Linked DNA regions of Homo sapiens: regions 1, 2, 3, 4 and 5 are each linked to region 6. The links are contacts of gene promoters, found by promoter capture Hi-C in blood cells and fetal thymus (Javierre and others, 2016). All regions are on one chromosome and are shown on one strand. Each heading gives the region's core, a stretch centred on a gene start or on the middle of the fragment in contact. The rest is flanking DNA. Distances are from core to core; before and after follow the strand shown.

Evidence for each region. The method cuts DNA at HindIII sites, captures the fragments that hold promoters and counts their contacts. A CHiCAGO score of 5 or more calls a contact.
Region 1: a contact is called between a fragment that was not itself captured here and the fragment with the promoter of CLDND1 in region 6, in 2 of 17 cell types (naive B cells and total B cells). The highest score is 6.6, in naive B cells.
Region 2: a contact is called between a fragment that was not itself captured here and the fragment with the promoter of CLDND1 in region 6, in 1 of 17 cell types (total B cells). The highest score is 8.0, in total B cells.
Region 3: a contact is called between a fragment that was not itself captured here and the fragment with the promoter of CLDND1 in region 6, in 3 of 17 cell types (fetal thymus, naive B cells and total CD4 T cells). The highest score is 10.9, in fetal thymus.
Region 4: a contact is called between a fragment that was not itself captured here and the fragment with the promoter of CLDND1 in region 6, in 1 of 17 cell types (total CD8 T cells). The highest score is 5.2, in total CD8 T cells.
Region 5: a contact is called between the fragment with the promoter of PCNP here and the fragment with the promoter of CLDND1 in region 6, in 5 of 17 cell types (total B cells, naive CD8 T cells, fetal thymus and 2 more). The highest score is 17.2, in total B cells.

The regions. Positions count from the first base shown.
Region 1 is chr3:94,069,479-94,072,810 of GRCh38, forward strand. The region is part of intron 2 of NSUN3 (NOP2/Sun RNA methyltransferase 3); the gene reads left to right. Among named protein-coding and RNA genes, the nearest start is that of NSUN3, 8.1 kb to the left of the region's middle. The HindIII fragment of the contact is 1,800 bases long and covers 590-2,389 here.
Region 2 is chr3:94,049,280-94,052,463 of GRCh38, forward strand. It overlaps ARL13B (ARF like GTPase 13B), which reads left to right. Exons shown (of 10, transcript NM_001174150.2): 8 at 127-243; 9 at 1,545-1,613. Among named protein-coding and RNA genes, the nearest start is that of DHFR2, 12 kb to the right of the region's middle. The HindIII fragment of the contact is 629 bases long and covers 1,083-1,711 here.
Region 3 is chr3:101,672,008-101,675,308 of GRCh38, forward strand. It overlaps ZBTB11 (zinc finger and BTB domain containing 11), which reads right to left. Exons shown (of 11, transcript NM_014415.4): 2 at 1-206. Among named protein-coding and RNA genes, the nearest start is that of ZBTB11-AS1, 2.8 kb to the right of the region's middle. RefSeq lists an enhancer at 1,869-2,369. The HindIII fragment of the contact is 3,726 bases long and covers 1-3,139 here.
Region 4 is chr3:101,728,681-101,731,833 of GRCh38, forward strand. It overlaps CEP97 (centrosomal protein 97), which reads left to right. Exons shown (of 11, transcript NM_024548.4): 4 at 156-257. Among named protein-coding and RNA genes, the nearest start is that of CEP97, 5.6 kb to the left of the region's middle. The HindIII fragment of the contact is 5,493 bases long and covers 1-3,153 here.
Region 5 is chr3:101,572,837-101,575,938 of GRCh38, forward strand. PCNP (PEST proteolytic signal containing nuclear protein) reads left to right here and starts at 1,344. Exons shown (of 5, transcript NM_020357.3): 1 at 1,344-1,443. The coding sequence starts at 1,380. RefSeq lists enhancers at 555-1,500, 944-1,213, 1,314-1,443, 1,524-1,683, 1,704-1,863. The HindIII fragment of the contact is 5,212 bases long and covers 1-3,102 here.
Region 6 is chr3:98,521,239-98,524,467 of GRCh38, forward strand. CLDND1 (claudin domain containing 1) reads right to left here and starts at 1,664. Exons shown (of 5, transcript NM_001040181.2): 1 at 1,611-1,664; 2 at 1-204. The coding sequence starts at 186. CLDND1-AS1 (CLDND1 antisense RNA 1) reads left to right here and starts at 1,332. Exons shown (of 2, transcript NR_198998.1): 1 at 1,332-1,595. RefSeq lists silencers at 1,111-1,220, 1,271-1,910 and an enhancer at 3,113-3,229. The HindIII fragment of the contact is 2,905 bases long and covers 847-3,229 here.

The DNA.
Region 1 (3,332 bases), core at 240-2,739, 4.5 Mb before region 6:
AAATAGGTTCTGTAATCTACAGGGTTATATTAATTGTGTTTAACAATTTCTAGATTAAATGATATTTTTCATCTTCGTCACTAGGACGGAAGGTAGGGTGGAGAGTAGAGTAGTAGGAAAAAAGAATAAAGTCACAGAAAAGTTGAATGAAAATTATACTATCAAATAATAAACATTATCGAAATGATACATTATACAGTTTTGCAAAATTTTAACTTAACTAGCTTTTAATTTTTTAATGCTTTAATTTTGTTAAAATAGTAAGTAGTTCAGAGAGCCTTGAATCAGAACTCCAATTTTATTCATTTACTCCAGGATTTAGGCCCCAGGCACTTAGCCAAGGAGAAAAATAAGTCAAGGCTCCCATATAAATGAGTTAGGGAAATGGGTAAGCAGGCAGGGTGACACACAGTGTGATATATTAGTTTAGCTTCATTAACTGTTTCTCAAAATTCAGTTATTCTTGTGTACCATCTGTCTAGTTTTACTTAATTTTTTTTTGGTCAGTTTTAATATTTTTCTTTTGTTTCTTAGGAATTTTTCTTTTGTTTCTTAGGAATTTATTTTTCTTTTGTTTCTTAGGAATTTAAGCTTATTTTATATCATTATCAGTAAATAGATGTGCCTAGCCTATAGTTGACAGACGGTGTATTTTTAGAGAATGAATGAATGTTGACAAGAAGATAATATACGATGGCTCACACCTGTAATTCCAGCACTTTGGGAGGCCAAGGCAGGAGATTTGCTTGAGGGCGGGAAGATTGCTTGAGGACAAGAGTTCAAGACCAGCATGGGCAATATAGCAAGACCTCATCTCTAGAAAAAATAAGCAATTAGCTGGGTGTGGTGGTGCGTGCCTGTAGGCGCAACTACTTGGGAGACTGAGGTAGGAGGATCGCTTGAGTCCAGGAGGTCGAGGCTTCACTGAGCCATGATCGCACAGCTGTACGCCAGCCTGGGTGACAGAGTGAGACCTTGTCTCTAAAAAAAAGAAGACAAAACAGACTTAGCATGTTGGAGGGAGGAGCAACAATGAGTGAGAAATAGAAAGACTTTTCAAGGGGGTATGTAGGCTCAGGCAAGTGACCGCAGTCAGTTTTCACATCCTCAACTTTCATGTATTCTCTTTCAGAAAATTACTCTGCCCCTCTGTACATAAGGGGGCACATATTCTCCTTTCCCAACCTGCCTTTCTCCAATTTCCCTTCACCCTTTTCACAAAAAGAAAGGCACACTTGCACCATTCTGGCTTCTATGCTATGTTCCTCCAGGTATTCAAAACCTCCATATGCCAGAAACTATTGGAGTGTCAGTGTGAGAAAGCAAATGACTAACAGATTCTCTGACAAGTCAGGTGGTTTCCAAGTTTTGCTTTCAACAAAAGTAAAGGAGCCTTGATTGAGATGTCAGCTATCAATTCATTTAAGACATTTTTGATGATAGGTTGCTAAGTGATTTGGGGATATAACTCCAAAAGAATTCAAAGTAAGAAACATTGCTATAACAAAATATATTTAATTCTCATCCACTTATTTAACTGAAGGTTTTTCTCAGCTTTTATAAAAAACACAAAATAGGCATAAAAATGATGTTGAATCCTGACTGATTTTATTATAGTAAGAAGTAATATTCATTTATGGATATATGGAAACAAAAGCTCATTTCATTAAGTATCCATTTCTTACCAATTTTTACTTTTATAAGTTGTTTTGATCGGTTTTGTACTAATAATATTATTGATCCCTGAATCCAGAAGTTACCATTTTAACACTTAGAGATTTAAGACCACAGGAAAAACAAATTTAGTACATACACATGTGTATATGTGGGGGCTAGAGAAGCATGATAGGGTGATAAAAAGATTTCAAGCATGAAAATATATTAAGATGAAGTTATATGAAGTAGAATGTAAATAAAAGAGGAAAACGAGCAGCATAAAATTTCCACCTGTTAAAGATGAGTCAGTCTATGAATTTTTAAATGGATGATGATGGGTATCAAAATCATTATGATATTTAGTTTCCACTGGGCACATACTAAAGGCAGTATAATTTGTATTTTAAAATGTCAATTTTTACAGTATGCTGGAAATTGCATCCTTTAAACATATGGTGAGATTTTAATGTCAACTTAAAATGTGTTTTTTTTCAAAATGATATCAGTGGTGCACTAGCAAATTTGCAGGTCACTGACCTTGTATGTCTCCAGTTCTGCTGGCTACTGAGGTACTTGCACTTCTTCTCACCTGGAAGACCAGTAAATGGAGCCGCTTCAGACTAACTGTGAATCTTGGGAAAAGGCCTGGAGTGTGGCACCTGGCCGCTGTTTTCTAGAGTCATCTAACATACATTCCCTCTACTGCCTGCTAAGCTACTTGCCCATCCATAAAAGCTTTGGATTCGGAAGCCACTTTCCCTCCAGCCCCAGGTTAGCAACCCACCCAGTGCAGGCACAGGAGGGGTTGTATGTGTGTGTGTTGTGGGGAGGAGAATGGAGGTCAGTGGCAGGTGTGTGCAAGGGGAACTGTAAGAATCATATTAATACACAGCTTTGCTTTCTCAGGGCTAGGAAGCACCAGCCTGAGCAGCCTTAGCAGTCCCTTCAAGAGTTGGTCTGTTGCAGCTGCTTCTATAGGCAGGATGTGGCAAGCTGATTTCATTGTTAGACAGAAGAGGGTTTCAGGGAGGTCATGGCCACTTGCACTAAGTGAGGGTTGGGGTAAAATTCTCTTTCTTGCCCCCTTTTGTAGCTCTGTGCTGTAGTACCAGGGTCTCACACGTTGGGAATCACTTCTGTTAGACTTTAAAGTCAGTCTGATTTTGAATCAGATACTTCTGCGTACTAGCAATGTGACCTCAGGTAAGTTGCCAAAATCTCTAAAAGCCTCAGTTAACCTCTAAAATAGGAGTAAGAGCTGCCTCTCTCAAGGTTGTTGTGATGGTTCTATGATATAAACATGCAAAATGAACATTGTACACATCCAGTCAGTAACATTTATTAATAATGATATCAGAGTATGGTGGAGGATGTGAACCGGGTGGTAAGTGGAAAGACTTCGTTGGAGAGAGAAAACTCCCTAAGTTGAGAACAGATAGGTGAGAGAGGAAAGGTTATTCAGGGAGGTTGGGGGCCGGGCATGTGGAGATCAGTAAATTTTAAAGAAACTTGTTAGAAGAAATCTGTATAGTTCAGTAGGGTTGGGTGTAGATCATGAAAGATCAAAAATTTCGTTTGTTCTATTTAGGCCTTATTTTGTCTAGTCACTAAAGAATGAGATAGAGTAATTTCTGAAGAGTTCTGCCTCAGTCTGCAATAAGTTCTTCTCTTTTTTT
Region 2 (3,184 bases), core at 147-2,646, 4.5 Mb before region 6:
TCCAAAGTTAAATAGTCAAGATGTTTTTTGTTAATAATATCAGTATTCTTGTTGTATTCTTTGTTTTCTATTATAAAAGTGCACTTTTTCATAAAGACATGAAGTTTCATGTTTATATTCTTGTAGCTAATGGTAAAAAGAAAACTAAGAAACTAAGAATGAAAAGGAACCACCGGGTAGAACCACTTAATATAGATGACTGTGCTCCTGAGAGTCCAACGCCACCCCCACCCCCTCCTCCTGGTGAGTAAATTGATACTGATACTGAATTTAGAAATATTGCTTTAAACAACAGAGAAAAAAAAAAAGAAAAAAGGAATCTTGTCATTTTTATTCTGTATATTCATTATCTTGTATACTTGTGAAGAAGAATCTTTTACTCTGATTTGGACAAAATTTGCTAACACAAATGTCCATTGCTTTTTTGAATAAAAAAATGTTTTATAAAGAAAAAAATAAGTAAAAACTATTAAGAAAATTTTACCCAGTATTTCCTAGAATATGTTCAAGTTCTATTTGAAATATCAGTACCCACATGTTAATTTAAGTTTCACGATGGATGGCTAACATGAGTTTTTAAAACATTGAACCGGCTCGGCATGGTGGCTGACACCTGTAATCCCAGCACTTTGTGAGGCCGAGGCGGGCAGATAACCAGGTGAAGAGTTCGAGATCAACCTGGCCAACTTGGTGAAACCCCGTCTCTACTAAAGATACAAAAAAAAAAAAAAAAAATTAGCTGGGCGTAGTAGCACATGCCTGTAATCCCAGCTACTCAGGAGGCTGGGGCAGGAGAATCGCTTGAACCTGGGATGGAGAAGTTGCAGTGAGCCAAGATCACTCCATTGCACTCCAGCCTGGGTGACAGGGTGAGACTCCATCTCGGGAAAAAAAAAAAAAAAAAAAAATTGGACCTTTCATCCTGAAAGTTAATGTTTGAAACCAAGATGTATTAATTTTTTCTAATACATTTTCAATATACATACCCATGTCCTAAGTTGTTACGAGGATTAAATGGAGTAATGCATATAAAACACTGGGACTTAACTTGCACAATAATTTTGAGTAACTTTTCAGCACTAAGCTTAGCACCTCACCTACTATAGGTGGTCAGTAAATATGTAATGACTAGATAAATATGTGTATAGTGCCCTTATAGCCCTGCTACAAGGCTTTAGAAATTATTTGGTAACATTTTAAGAATCTCTTATAGACTCATTTCCAGTATTCCATTTATTAAGAAAATATTTAGTTTCTGCCTAGAGTTAGAATGATAGCATGAGTTTGTTTTTGATAGTGGTGAAGGTGCTTATAGTTTTTATTAAAAGCTACTGAAAAGTTAAAGCAGATGTTAGCAGCCTATAATTACATTTTAAAATATAGAAGCCATTTAAAATGGGTTTCTGGCTTTCCATACTGTCATTCAATATATTTGAATTGACATTGAATGTTACATATGCTTCCTTTCCAGGGAGGGATCCTCTCAACAGACCTAAAGAAACCTTGTTTAACAGTGTTTTTTAAATGTTTTTCTTTTTCTTTAGTTGGCTGGGGAACCCCTAAAGTCACTAGACTTCCAAAACTTGAGCCTCTTGGTGAAACACATCATAATGGTAATGCAAAAGGATTGGTTTTCAGATATCATCTGTACATGTCACATTCACTTTTCTTTAGCCTTATAATTTCAACAAACTTATGTTTTAGTTTTAGAAGCTTGTCAAATCCACAGCTATCCTTTTTCATTATACGTCTTTTTTCATTTTATTTAATTTTTTATTCTTAAGTATGCTTTACATCTATATCATTTAATTTGGTGTTTACCTTAGAATACAGAGGTAAAAAGAATCATAGCTTGTGTTTATTATCCATGATATATTTATACAAGGAGTTATAATAAAAAGGAAATGTTTTAAAATAATTTAACTATGAGACATTAGAATTTATAACTTAAGTGTTAAAAGCTGTAGTTTCCTGTATATGCTCAATATACTCAATGATAATGGCACATAATTTTTTCTCTCTACTCCTAATAAGACAACCAGCTGCTGAACATTAAAGTGAAGTAAAGATCAACACAGTTTATAAAATCAGAGATCAAATCAGTAAACCTAATAAAGTTCGACTAAGTAGAAAGTTACTAACATTTTTATTGAATTAAGAGAACAGTTTTCTTTGAATATAACATACGCTATAGTCTAGATAGTTTATGGCATTAGAATTCTAGGATGCAAAAACTAGAGGAAGGATATTTAGGAGAAGTAGAGAACTGCCTTATAAAACAAGGAGAAGTTCTGATTACAGACCATCAGTCTAGGTCCCTTCAGTAAAATATTTCTAGAATGCAAAAGAATTATAGATAAATGTAGTTCAATAAACTTGTTTGTTAAGAACATCCAATTCCTTTTTGGACAGCTCTGTGTTTACCTAGTCTAGAACTTGGTTTCACTTACTAGGAAAAAACTCAGAAGTTTACTCTTTAGAAAAGCATTACCATATAATTTGAAATTATATCAAACCAGTTTAAATATTTTTGTTTAAAAGGTACTTAAATATAAATGTGCTATTTGCTTTTTTCCCCCAGAATTCTATTTAGGTCAGTATTGAAATATTTCTTGATAATCGTTAGTGAAAATTCATGAATTTTTTTTTTTTTAAAGACAGAAAAGTTTGTCCTTAGACTCCATCAGAATTACTGAAGTGGTATTTTCAGTGAAATCTCATCTCTCTGTTTAGTTTACTGACTTGACATCGTGATGTTTATATTGACTACAGTAGATTTATTTCTTTATTACACAACTCTTAGTGAACTTGTGTACGTTAGAATACATTGTCAATATAAATATTCACTATGTTGTTAGAAAACTAATGTTACTGTGTATATTTATATGTACACACATACATATGAAGAAAAAATACCAATTTTTCATATGACATATTTTTTCTGTTGAACTCATTTAACATACAAGTATTTTGTTTGTTAAAACATTGGTAATAACAAGATGAATAAGATGTACATTCTGCCTTTGTGAGGATTCTACTATACAGAGAGGACAATTCTTCAGCTTACTGTAGAATATATGACAATGAGTTCTATGGTGTACAGTTGGAGTACTGTGCACAGTAGGAGTACTGTGTACATGGGCAGTTAGGGAAAGTGGCATTAGAACGAGGTCTTCAAAGAATG
Region 3 (3,301 bases), core at 27-2,526, 3.2 Mb after region 6:
CTTTTTTGCAGGCTTGGATGCTGTAGTTGGAGATGAAGTAAAGTTGCTCAGGTCATCTTCCGATTCATTACTTTCTTCTCCAGATTCAAGGTCTAGTCCCAATTCTTCCAACATTTCTGAAACATCTGATATTGGACGGGATCGATCTAGTTTCTCCTGGCATTTGCTACACTGTTTAATGTAATCTTTGACTTGCTTCAATATACCTACAATGAAAATATTAACAAGTCAAATTTAATACTGTTAACTGAAAACAGAATATATTATTTAGTCTGTGCACATTAACACATTTCAGTACATATGTGCAGACATTCATGTCCCATAAAATATGTAGAGTTTATTAGAATGTAAAATATACTTTTTTCCCAAAAAATATAAAGTTATAAATGATGTTCTCCTGCTGAGGTAATTTTTTTTATTTATTCCCAGTTATTTGTTTCTCTAATCATAAGATGACTATATAGCTCCACCCATTTTCATGTGAGTTGCAATGTTTTCATGCAAGAGGAACTATATGAAACTGCCAATATTCACCTTTTTTTGACCTACACAAATTAACAATTTAGGGCATGATGGCGCACGCCTGTAATCCCAGCTACTCTGGAGGCTGAGGCCGGAGACTCACTAATAACCCGGGAGGCGGAGGTTGCAGTGAGCTGAGATTGTGCCACTGCACTCCAGCCTGGGCAACAGACCAAGACTCTGTCTCAAAACAAAACCAAACAAATTAACAATTTAATATGGCTCAAGCTAATACTTCTCCACCCCAGTGACATTAGGCTTGACCGTGTGATTTGATTTGCACACATGTGATGTGTACCATATCTGAACAGAACCTTAAGAGGTACTGAGTATTTTGCACCAGTTCTCTGATCTTTGTCCCCTCTCACAAAGAACAGCAATGTCCCAGAGGGATGTTGTTCTTAAACCTGAATTTCAGATGAAAAAAGCTGAAACCAATCTGTAGCCTGGAACAGGACTACTACAAAACTTGTAATGAAAGTTTAAAATAAATCTTTTGTTTTTGAAAGTTATGAGATTTTAGGGTTGTGTGAAATAAAAGCATACACAATCTAACAAAAGTTGATTATATACAAGCCACTCACAAAAGATTTTGAATTTCAACTTCCAGCTCCCAGCATGCTAGGGTAGGGGTGAGGAGGCAGGGACAAGGCTTTATGTATATGTACACACATCCCACTATCATCCTTGTAAGAGAACAATTAATTCCCATTCTATACAAGAGGAAAATAAAGCCCTAAGAGGTATGTAGCTTGTCCAAAGTCACATCTAGTAAAATGGCAGAGCTAGGCCTCCAGAAGTCATGGGATTTTCGGTATATTATTCTACTTACACAAGAGCACGCTTGTCCATTCCTAGGGCAGAAAGTTACCCCCAAATCTTCAAATAAGTACAAATGAAAAGGTTATGAGGTAAAATGATAGAGGTATGGTATAGAGAATATTCCTGAAAAGTGTTTTAAAATGTCGAATTATACAAAGCTCCTTACACTTTTTTTTTTTTGAAATGGAGTCTCTCTCTGTTGCCCAGGCTGGAGTGCAGTGGTGGGATCCCGGCTCACTGCAACCTCCGCCTCCTGGGTTCAAGTGATACTCCCACCTCAGCCTCCCGAGTAGCTGGGATTACAGGCGCCCGCCACCACACCTGGCTAATTTTTTGTATTTTTAGTAGAGATGGGGTTTCACTATTTTTGCCAGGCTGGTCTCAAACTCCTGACCTCAAGTGATCTGCCCGCCTTGGCCTCCCAAAGTGCTGGGATGACGGGCATGAGCCACCTTGCCTGGCCACCAAGTTCCTTATACTTTCAATCTTCAAATAGTATTCAAGCAATATTTTCCAAATTGTATTATGTCCCACACTGATTATAAAAGTATACACTGAAGTCATAAATTCAGAAAAATTTTAGCTATATGCAATTGACATTTATTATTAGAACCTCTGACTTCTACGGTGAAGAAACCTGTTTAACCTAGGAATTTGTCAAATTTATGGATTCACAGAGACTGTTTTTTTTTTTTTTTGCAGAACATAAACAATGGGGCTTGGGGCGTGGCTCACACACTTTGGGAGGCTGAGGTGGGCGGATCATTTGAGGTAAGAAGTTCGAGACAAGCCTGGCCAACAGAGCAAAACAAAAATTAGCTAGGTGTGGAGGCACGCGCCTGTAGTCCCAGCTACTCCGGAGGCTGAGGCACCAGAATCACGTGAGCCTGGGAGGCGAAGGCTGCAGTGAGCCGAGATCGCGCCACTGTGCTCCGGCCTGGGTGACAGAACAAGACTCTGTCTCAAAGAAAAAAAGAGAAGAAAAGAAAGAAAGGAACAATGGGTTCGAGTTAAATATAACTTTATCAAAAAAGCATTTATATGAGTGTAGATTTAGAGACCAAAAGAGGTTGTATTGGCCGGGCGCTGTGGCTTACACCCGTAATCCCAGCGCTTTGGGAGGTCGAGGTGAGCAGATCATCTGAGCTCAGGAGTTCGAGCCCAGCCTGGCCAACATGGTGAAACCCCGTCGCTACTAAAAATAGAAAAATTAGCTGGGCGTGGTGTAATCCCAGCTACTCTGGAGACTGAGGCACCAGAATCGCTTGAACCCGGGAGGTGGAGTTGCAGTGAGCCGATATCGCGCCACTGCACTCCAGCCTGGGCAACAGAGTGACTCTGTCTCAATAAATAAATAAATAAAATAAATAAATAAATAAATAAACATCGTCTCAGGTTTTTGCCTTTTAAGACACTGCACACTAAAAATTAAAAAAAAAACAACTGGATTAGAATCACTCACAGATAATGAACTTAGAAAAAGAAAAATTCTGAACACAAAATACCACATAACACTGGGTTAAGAAAAGTGTGAGATCACAAAGGTCAGCTGTGTGACTTTTGTTGTGTTATTTAACATCCTAGTGCTTTTAGTTTTTTCATCTGTAAAACAGATAGAGGCTGAAAAGGGAGGATCATCTGAGCCTAGGAGGTCGAGGCTACAGTGAGCTGTGATCGTTGTCACTGCACCAAGCAAGACCCCCTACGCTCTGTCTCCAAAAAAGGGAGATAAGTATTAAGGTTTTATGAAGGTTAAATAAATGTCAAGGGCTAACGACTACATCCTGCATATACAAGCTTGATCAATGTTACCTATAGTTACAATTATCATCTTTAACAAATCCTGAAGTATTAAATCTGAGACATTTGTTCAACAAACTAATGTCTACCCAAACCCATCCAAACAAAATGCACTGATTACTTCATTACCTCATAATTTAATCTTCGCATTTGTCTG
Region 4 (3,153 bases), core at 626-3,125, 3.2 Mb after region 6:
CTGTTAGTACTGCCCCTTTTCTCTTGCTAAGTTCTTCTACTCTGCTTCTAATAATAAGAGGAGGGAAGACACTCTTTCAGCTGCAAAGAACTAGGGAATAATTTTATTTTTTGATTTTGTTTTCATTAAATAGTGTGATGCTTTTCTTGTGATAGGCCATGGAACAGATCAATAGCTGCACAGCTCTACAGCATCTCGATTTATCAGACAATAATATATCCCAGATAGGTGATCTATCTAAATTGGTATCCCTGAAAGTAAGTATGTTTTCTTTGTCATTTGTGAAGTTTTATAGCAAAATACCAAGAGAAAGTAATCTTACTGACCTAAAATTAGCCTGCTTTGTATGAGCAGATTGCTTTCTTTATGATAAGAATTATGGGCTGGGCATGGTGGGTCATGCCTGTAATCCCAGCACTTTGAGAGGCTGAGGCGAGTGGATGGCTTGAGCTCAGAAGTTCAAGACTAGCCTGGGCAACATGGCAAAGCCCCATCTCTACTAAAAATACCAAAAATTAGTGGGGCATAGTGGTGCGAGCCTGTAGTCCCAGCTACTCAGCTAAAGCAGGATTGGTTGAACCCAGGAGGTGGAGGTTGTGGTGACCCGAGATTGGGTCACTGCACTCTAGCCTGGGCAATAGAGTGAGACTCAGTCTCAAAAAAAAAAAAAGGAATTATGTTAGAATACCAGAAATTAAGTTTGAAACTTTTTGTTGTTAGTTATATAACTCATTTATTTGATGTGAAACTGGTCATTGTAGTTAAGGTTAATTTTATTTACCATTCTCTGAACATGATGGAATTCCCTGTATGCCCAATCAACCAATATTAGTAACTTCAGTTATTATATAGTACATAATCTTTGGTGAGGTTGAGATTAATCATTCCTGAATTTGAGTCTGTCTTTATTTTTTTTTGAGACAGAGTCTTGCTCTGTCACCCAGGCTAGAGTGTAGTAGTACAATCTCACTCGACCTCCCAGGCTCAAGTGATCCTCTCACCTTAGCCTCCCAAGTAGCTAGGACCATAGGCATGTGTACATCACCACACCCAGCTAATTTTTTGAGTGTTTGTAGAGATGAGATCTTTTTCTTTTCTTTTTTTTTTTTAGATAGAGTTCTGCTCTGTCACCCAAGCAGTGGTGCAATCTTGGCTCACTGCAACCCAAGCAGTGGTTGCAGTGGTGCAATCTTGGCTCACTGCAACCTCTGCCTCCTGTGTTCAAGTGATACTTCTGCCTCAGCGTCCCGCGTAGCTGGGATTATAGGCGCCCACCACCACACCTGGCTAATTTTTTGTATTTTTAGTAGAGACAGGATTTCACCACGTTGGCCAGGCTGATTTTGAACTCCTGACCTCACATGATCCTCCTGCCTTGGCCTCGCAAAGTGTTGGGATTACAAGCGTGAGCCACTGCACCTGGCCAGAGATGAGATCTTACTATGTTGTCTAGACTGGTCTCAAACTCCTGGACTCTAGCAGTCCTCCTGCCTCAGTCTCTCAAAGTGCTAGGATTACAGGCATGAGCCACCGAACTGGCCGAGTCTGTTTTTTTGTTTTGTTTTGTTTTGTTTTGTTTTGTTTTGTTTTGTTTTGTTTTGTTGAGACGGAGTTTTGCTCTGTTGCCCAGGCTGGAGTGCAGTGGCGCAATCTCGGCTCACTGCAACCTCTGCCTCCCAGGTTCAAGCGATTCTCCTGCCTCAGCCTCCTGAGTAGCTGGGACTACAGGTGCATGCCACCACGCCCAGCTAATTTTTGTATTTTTAGTAGAGATGGCATTTCATCATGTTGGCCAGGCTGGTCTCGAACTCCTGACCTTGTGATCCACCCGCCTCGGCCTCCCAAAGTGTTGGGATTACAGGCATGAGCCACTGCGCTGGGTCCCAAGTCTGGATTTTTTTTTTTTTTTTTGACATTCAGAATTGCTGTTTTTAAAGTAATAGGTATTAGCTAATTGTCAAAATTAATTTCACTTAGAAAAAAACATGTAGCATGTAGCACTTTTTATGGAGGGGAATGTATCATGCAGTCAAATAAGTAACAGTTGAAATCACAGTCTTGAAAAACATGTAGAACATTTTAAATATTGTTGCCTCATTGGATATTATTACCATCAGATATGTTCATTAAGCCCTAGAAGCAGTATCTTAGTTCACTTTTTCCCAGATCTTTAGCAGAAATCATTTTTAGCAATAATTATTCTAAACATTTTGATGTAGCCAGATGTTGTCCTAATAGATGCTAAGAGAATTCAAATGAACCAAAGATGATTGAATTTTTTTTTTTTTTTTTGCTGGAATAGAAGCCTATTTATCTGATCAGAATCCTGGGTGTTCAGTTTTGGGTTTATTCTTGGTTGTTGCTGACTTAATGTGAGTCAGCTTTATCTGCAAGTAACACATTCTACCTCCCTTTATTTTTTAGTTACCTAGAGAATACAGTTGCAATTATGGATGTAGGTTATCACTCTCTTTTTTGGAAAATTTGCTTTATATGTGGTTGTTTTAATGACTTTTTTTTTTTTTTTTTTTTAATTTGAGACATCAGAGTCTTGCTGTCACCCAGGCTCGAGTGCAGTGGTGCAGTCATGGCTTACTATAGCCTCGACCTCCTGGGCTCAAGTGATCCCCCTACCTCAGCCTCCCCAGTAGCTGGAAATACAGGTGCACCTCATCATGCCTGGCTAATTTTTTGATTTTTAGTAGAGACCAGGTCTCACTATGTTGCCCAGGCCGGTCTCAAACTCCTGGGCTCAAGCAATCTTCCCTCCTTGGCCTCCCAAAATGCTGGGATTACAGGCATGAGCCACCACACATGGCCTCTATTTTGATATTTTAAAAGAAAATGAAAAAGTGTGTTAGAAATTGCTCAGTGTCTCATAAGTTAAATCTCACAGCATGCCTAGTTGCTATGCCAAGCATGTGTTTTTGGACAAGTCTTTAAAATATCATGAGCTTAGGATGTTGGTATGAAAACAGAGAGTTGGACCAGAAGATCATCAAGGACCCTTGTAGCATTAACAGTCTTTGATTTGTGTGTGATGAGAAATATAATAAAGTAGATTCCTTTATTCTTATATGTACCATTTTGGTGTTGTCACAATAGGCCAATTTATTTGTAATCTTTTCATTTGTAATTCATACTGTTTTTACT
Region 5 (3,102 bases), core at 94-2,593, 3.1 Mb after region 6:
GCTGGTTACTTTTACATATATGATAAATGATGGATCAGGGACTTCAACCTAGATCACAAAATCACCACCACACTGCCCTGCTTCTGTCATGGGAAACACACTTTGATAATTTCTTCATTCTTTCTCCACTCCCTGGACTTGAAGCCCGAGAAGTAATCCATCCGCAAATATTGAACACTTTTTATATTCATATATGAAACGCACAGTACACAGTTTTTAAAAACTGGTCTCTGTTGTCAAGGAACTTTTGAGCCATTCAGAGAGACAACACTTAAAACACACACACACACACACACACACACAAACTGAGGGAAGTATGAAGTGACCAAATAATGGTATACAAAGATGATCTCATTTGATCCCTATTACCACTCTTTGAGGAGGTACTATTATTATTGCTCTTTTATAGAGAAGAAAAGGTAGCTCTGTAGGCAGTAAGCAAGTCTCAAGGTTACTCAAGCAGGAAAGGGCAAAACAGATTCAAATCCAAGTTCTGACTCCTAAGACTTTCTCTAACTATATATGGTAAGACAAACCCAGAAACTCCAGTTCCCTAAGCAAGTAATAGACCCCATTTGGCTAGGAGGGCTGGATAAATACTGAGAAAGGGGGAAGATGAAGCCGAAAAGGTAGGCTAGGGCCTAATGTAACTCACGGACTTCAGAATGCAGACTGTAGGAATCCACTAAAGGTTTCTTATTAAGGCAGAAATTACTGCAGTCTTAACTTGACATAGTAGTTTCTCAACTTGGTAGAAGCAGACTATACAAAAAGTAACTTTACAGTTGGCTACGTGACTTAGACAAATTACTCTCTCTGACCTCAACTCTTACAGGTAATTGAGAGGAGAATTCTATATTTGGACAATCGCCGTGATTAAACGAGTGTATGAAAGGCGTCTGAAGCTAGGGGGCGCTAGATAAACACTGATTTCCCCTTTAGGGAAAAAGAATGCAGGCTTTTTGTTTACATAGAGTTGGCAGGCATGCGTTATCCAGCAAGGCCGGAACGGAAGACACTCTCAGCCTCAGCTGCAACCACATCTGGGTATGCAGAAACCTTCTAAGATCCCAGCGTTTCCAGGGAGATGCTCCATTTCCCCTCACTTCTCCGGACCTGTCGCTAGACCATGAAGACCTGACTGCCCTCTAATAAAGTGCCTAGCCAGCACTCTTAGACCGCCCAACCTTCCCAGCTCTTCCTTCCGAGGCGGCTACTCGATGACATCACATCCACTTCCGCTTCCGAAGGCGGCCTCTTTTCATTCCTCGGGACCGCTCTAGGCTGCCACCACGCCGGCTGGCCCCAAAAACTCGATGGTTGTTGGGCGGGGTCGTGACGTCCTTGGCGTGGCTGCAGGGGAGGCCGCGGCGGGGAAAATGGCGGACGGGAAGGCGGGAGACGAGAAGCCTGAAAAGTCGCAGCGAGCTGGAGCCGCCGGAGGTGAACACAACCCCAGCGTCGTGGGCAGCGTGGGATGCTCCGGGCCTTTCTTTGAGCTCCCAGGGTGGGGGGAGTGGGGTGGGGCGAGAATGGGCGGATCTGGACCTCACCCGGCCAGGTGTTGGGCCCAGACCTGCCTCGGGCACGCCCGATGCGGCCCTCTGGGCTCCGGGCCTACATCGCCTCCTTGCCTGGGGAGAGCCGGCCACTGTTCGTCACCTCCTGGCCCCAGCGGAGGCCCTGATTCCGAGGAGAAGGGAGATGGGCGCCAGAAAGGGAGACCGAACTCGGGGTGGGACCAGGAGCGGCGGTGCAGGAGCCGCTACCGCCACACCGGAGACGCACATCACACAAAACACACACACCGGAGACGCTCATGAGACATAACATACACACAGTGCGAGCCACCGAGTAGTTGCCGCGGGAACTGGCCGCAGGCTGAGTTTCTGACGGTGCCGGCCTCTCAGTTACACGCAGGAGTTAATTACGCTTGCTGCTCCCTTTTCACTGAGGAGGTGGACAACTCCGGCCTGCTCTCTTTCCTTTACTTCCAAGTTTAATATTGACCCTGTGACAGGATGGGCCGAGGTGATGGAGGGGAAGAGGAATGCCTTTGCCTGCCCTCTGGTTTAAGCTGCGGGGTCTAGGGCTAAGGTTTGGTTGCTTTTCTTTGAAGTATCTCCCTTAGGCTGTTGCCAGCTGACCGCTTGCCAGATACTTAGGCGACTAAATAGTCTAGCGTGACTCTTCCTGTATTTTGTTACGACGTTAAACTCAGGTTACAGCTATCCTTATTCTGTCCATTCCACTCCCTAAATTCGGGTCTTGTGCGTGAAGGAAAAGAAACGTAATCTCTCCAGCTCCCTCTTTGCACATAACAAGACAAGTGACTTAACACGTGCGAGCTGTTTAAAATGTTTTTAGAACATTTTAAACATTATTCTCTATTCTGACCACCTTAGTTATCATTCCCGAAATTATTTAATATGAGAAAATAGAAACGATTAATAGCATATGAAGGCCACTAGTAGACCTACTAACATAATGTTTCATGTTAATTGCCTTGGGAACAAAAATTATTGAAAAGATTAAGTGTAATGTTAATTACTTTGGACCCAGGATTTCCTTTTTAAAAAACACGTACAATTCTGTTAGTTAAGCTGGAACTCCATCTCTCTCTTCCCTCCCCACCCCCTGTCTTTTTTTTTTTTTATAACTAGTAAAATACCTTATGAAAGAACAATTTAAATTTAAACCATCTACTACTTTCTCACTAGGGAATTTTTTTTCCCAAAAAAATTGTATTGGAAATTGTGGGATAAAATTACATAAAAGTTTAAAAGTAGTTTGAGGAAAAGCAAAAAATTTTAGACGTAGTTTGAGGAAAAGCCTAAAGAATCATGTGTTGATTTTAAGGCCATCTCGTTAACTGTCTTGACCGAGGGTAGCAGACGTGTTTAATGTGCTGTCAAAATGTACCTTGAGTGTCATTATAAATCCACTGTATAATTTACCTGCCATTCTTTCAGTTGAGGGTTATTAGTTCTATAGTATGAATATTGATGTTTCCATTTTAGCATGTGGGGAGAAGTAGTAGAGAATTACTTTGCTAATTGGTATCAGAAAAATTATTATGGTCTTTTTCTTGGTAACTTAGAG
Region 6 (3,229 bases), core at 414-2,913:
CTTTTCATCTGCCTCATCACTAATGAATTCATCCCAGATGCTTTTATTCAAATCACTGGAATTTTCTTGAACTGGACTTCGATATTCATACCAGAAGTCTGTGCCAATGGAGGCTGCCATGTAGATGGTGGAAATGAGGCTAAGCACACAAGCAATTACAAATGCTGTAGCAAAACGGTTATCCATTCTGGCATTCAGACTGCTCTGTTTAGAAGTTGAAGAAAGAAGATAAGTTAGAGTTTACGGACAAATAAGAAAGATTATTTTGAATTATTCCAAATGCACCCTTTACCCAATTCCCCATCCCTTCGTACATATAACCATTAAGAATTTTTTTTAGAAAGCAAGCATGTTTTTAATTAAGCTTAAAACAAAACTCATTCTCATAAAAGTACTTATTGAATGCTCACATACCCAGGATGCTACGGAGACAGAGGTCTTGTTCTCTAGTCTATCACCTGCATACTAAAACAGACAACACTGAAATGGACATACACATTACAGATACAAACAATAGACATGCCCATGGTCAGCAGTGTACCGTGCACACATTTTAAATTACAGACTGAATTTTTGCACGAGCTGCAGAGGATTAAGTGTTCTGGGTTTGAGTGTTAAAAAGGCACAGGAAAAAGAAGCAGTGGAAATTGGCTTCTCCCAGTTTCCTCTGAAGAGGGAAGCCTCCTAAAACAAAGGTAAGAGTCAGGAGCCATACAGAAAACAGAGTTGAAGATGTTTGTTAACCCCGAGGGAAAGGTTGTTCTAGGTGTATAAAATAGCAAAGAGAACAATAACATGTAATAATGCTAGATAGCAATCTCTCCCTAATCCATTAAAGCTAAGCCAAGCTTCTTTACGCTGCCAAATGCTTCACTCCTATCTACTCTCCCGATTCCTTATACTTCTGAACCTCCTCAACAGAAATCTTGCTCTCTCCCTAAATCCTCAGTGCAACATACGTCCGCAAAAACTAAATGATCCCTCCTCAGCCAGACAGAAAACTCTCAACATATCAACACTCCCAAGGCGTGGACAGGGCTCAACGGCAGTAGTAAATGGCCGCGGTAAAATGACTCAAGGCAGATCGCGCTGAGTCAAATACTACACGGCAAGTATACACCGTGACCGCACCAAACACCTTACAAAGGTTCATGAAAACAGACTCGCAAACTGGGGTTGCTGAGTTTGGAAAATGGGAAGTGACTCAGGAAAGATAAGAGCAATGACAACGAAAACTCAAAAAGTTGGATTTGTATTTTGATTTTTTAAAAATCCCCCCTTCATCCTGGTGCTCTCAAATGACCTTAAAGGGTCCCAGCACTGGGAACGGCGGTTCGTCCAAGCCGGACGCCTGCAGCAGCCACCTCCTGGGCCTCACGGCGGGGCCGGAGAAGGCCAGGGCTGGGGCGGGGCAGCCGTGCTCGGCCCCGGGCCAGGGTCCCCCGGTACCCGACCAGGCCCCGCCCTAGAGGGCTCGGCCCTGGGACAAATCCGCCGCTCGGAACCCGCCCAGCCCGACCACGCCCGGGAAGGGGGCCCCTCTTCAAACCGCCGGGAACATGGAACCGCGACGCGACCCCTGCCCGGCGACGCAGGTCCCGCTCACTCACCGCCCATCCTCCTGCTCCGCCAGCTTCACCCTCTAGCTCAGACCACAGCACCCTACTCTCCCCGCGCCTCCTCTGACGCACTTCCCTGCAGAGCCCGCCCCCTCCATAACTCCCGCGCCTCCGCCCGCCCCCACTCCGGGCCGGGCCGCGGCCCGGGGCCGAGGGGCCTTGTGGGAGTTGTAGGAGGGACAGACTGAAAGCTGTCTGAGGCGGCGATAGGCATTCCTGGCGCCGCGCGCGGCGCATTGTGGGAGATGTAGTTCAGCTCCTCAGGGCAAGCCGGTACGCAGAAGGGAAGTCTAGGCTGTTGGATTCTTGCATTTTAGGGAGGAAGGGAGAATGGTCCAGAAAGTAAAGCGGGCCTGTTTCCGGTCATCTCGAGTCAATGACCGTGACTTGTATAACTTAGATCTGACTTTTAGGCCTGTGCTTTCCCTATCACACCACCCTGCCTCTAGATCTAAGTATAAATGAACAAAAATGGGATTCTACTTGTGAAACGTTGACCCATTTTATTTCCCTCTCCCAGAATCCCTCCCATTGGAGCAGAGCATCCTTCTGGTTTTATTGCATAAGTTTAGGCTAAGAAGTATGTGACCTGGCAGACAGTATCCATCAAGAATGTAATGATATTATTTGGGTTTCATAAAATGTGTTTGTAGCTGCCTTCTTTTTATGACAAGTGATACTAGTTTTCTATTGCAGCAATGTTGTTCCTTTTAAATTCTTTTCACTTATTTTAAAAACTATTAAGTTAATAATACTGAGGATACCAGATATGTCAAAAAATGAATAAAAAATTGTGGGTATAGTAGGAAAAAGACTGAAATTTGGGGAACATCACTCAAGCAGATAAGGTCATGGACAGCATTGGAGATTGCAGATGATGTGTGGCACAGGGGCAACAATGATTCTGAACCCTCAGGTTTAACACAGAAATTCATGGACAGGAAGCAGGGACATCTTAACAATAACATGAGTGGAACTATTAACGTGGCCTGGGACCAGCAAATGGTGGATTTCTCAACAGTAACCGACAGAGAAAGCTGACTCAAGGACCAGAGGGGCTCTCAAACCCCCACTCTGTCCCCTAATGCCTTGTAATTTAGCATAGGAGAAAGATGGGAGCTGCAAGTTGATATTAAATTTCTACCACTTTGACAGATTAAAGGCATGATATGTTTCTCTATCTGTACTTACATTTCTTTGACCTGAGTGGGTGAAACTGATATTCATATGCAGCACATAATAAGGTAGTAGCCAAATATATTCAAACATGACTCTGGATTTTCATATACAGCATATAATCAAAAAAAAATTTGTCAGAGGCACCAACTAGAGAAAGTGATGGAGAGGCACAGGCAAATTGTCAATGTGTAGTAAGACACATAAATGCCCTTATACTCCAGGAAATGTCTTCATCCATTGGCCTTCATTAGAAATCCCCTATTTTCCGCCGGGCATGGTGGCTCACGCCTGTAATCCCAGCACTTTGGGAGGCCGAGGCGGCAGATCACGAGGTCGGGAGATCGAGACCATCCTGGCTAACACGGTGAAACCCCGTCTCTACTAAAAATACAAAAAAATTAGCCAGGCGTGTTGGTAGGCGCTTGTGGTCC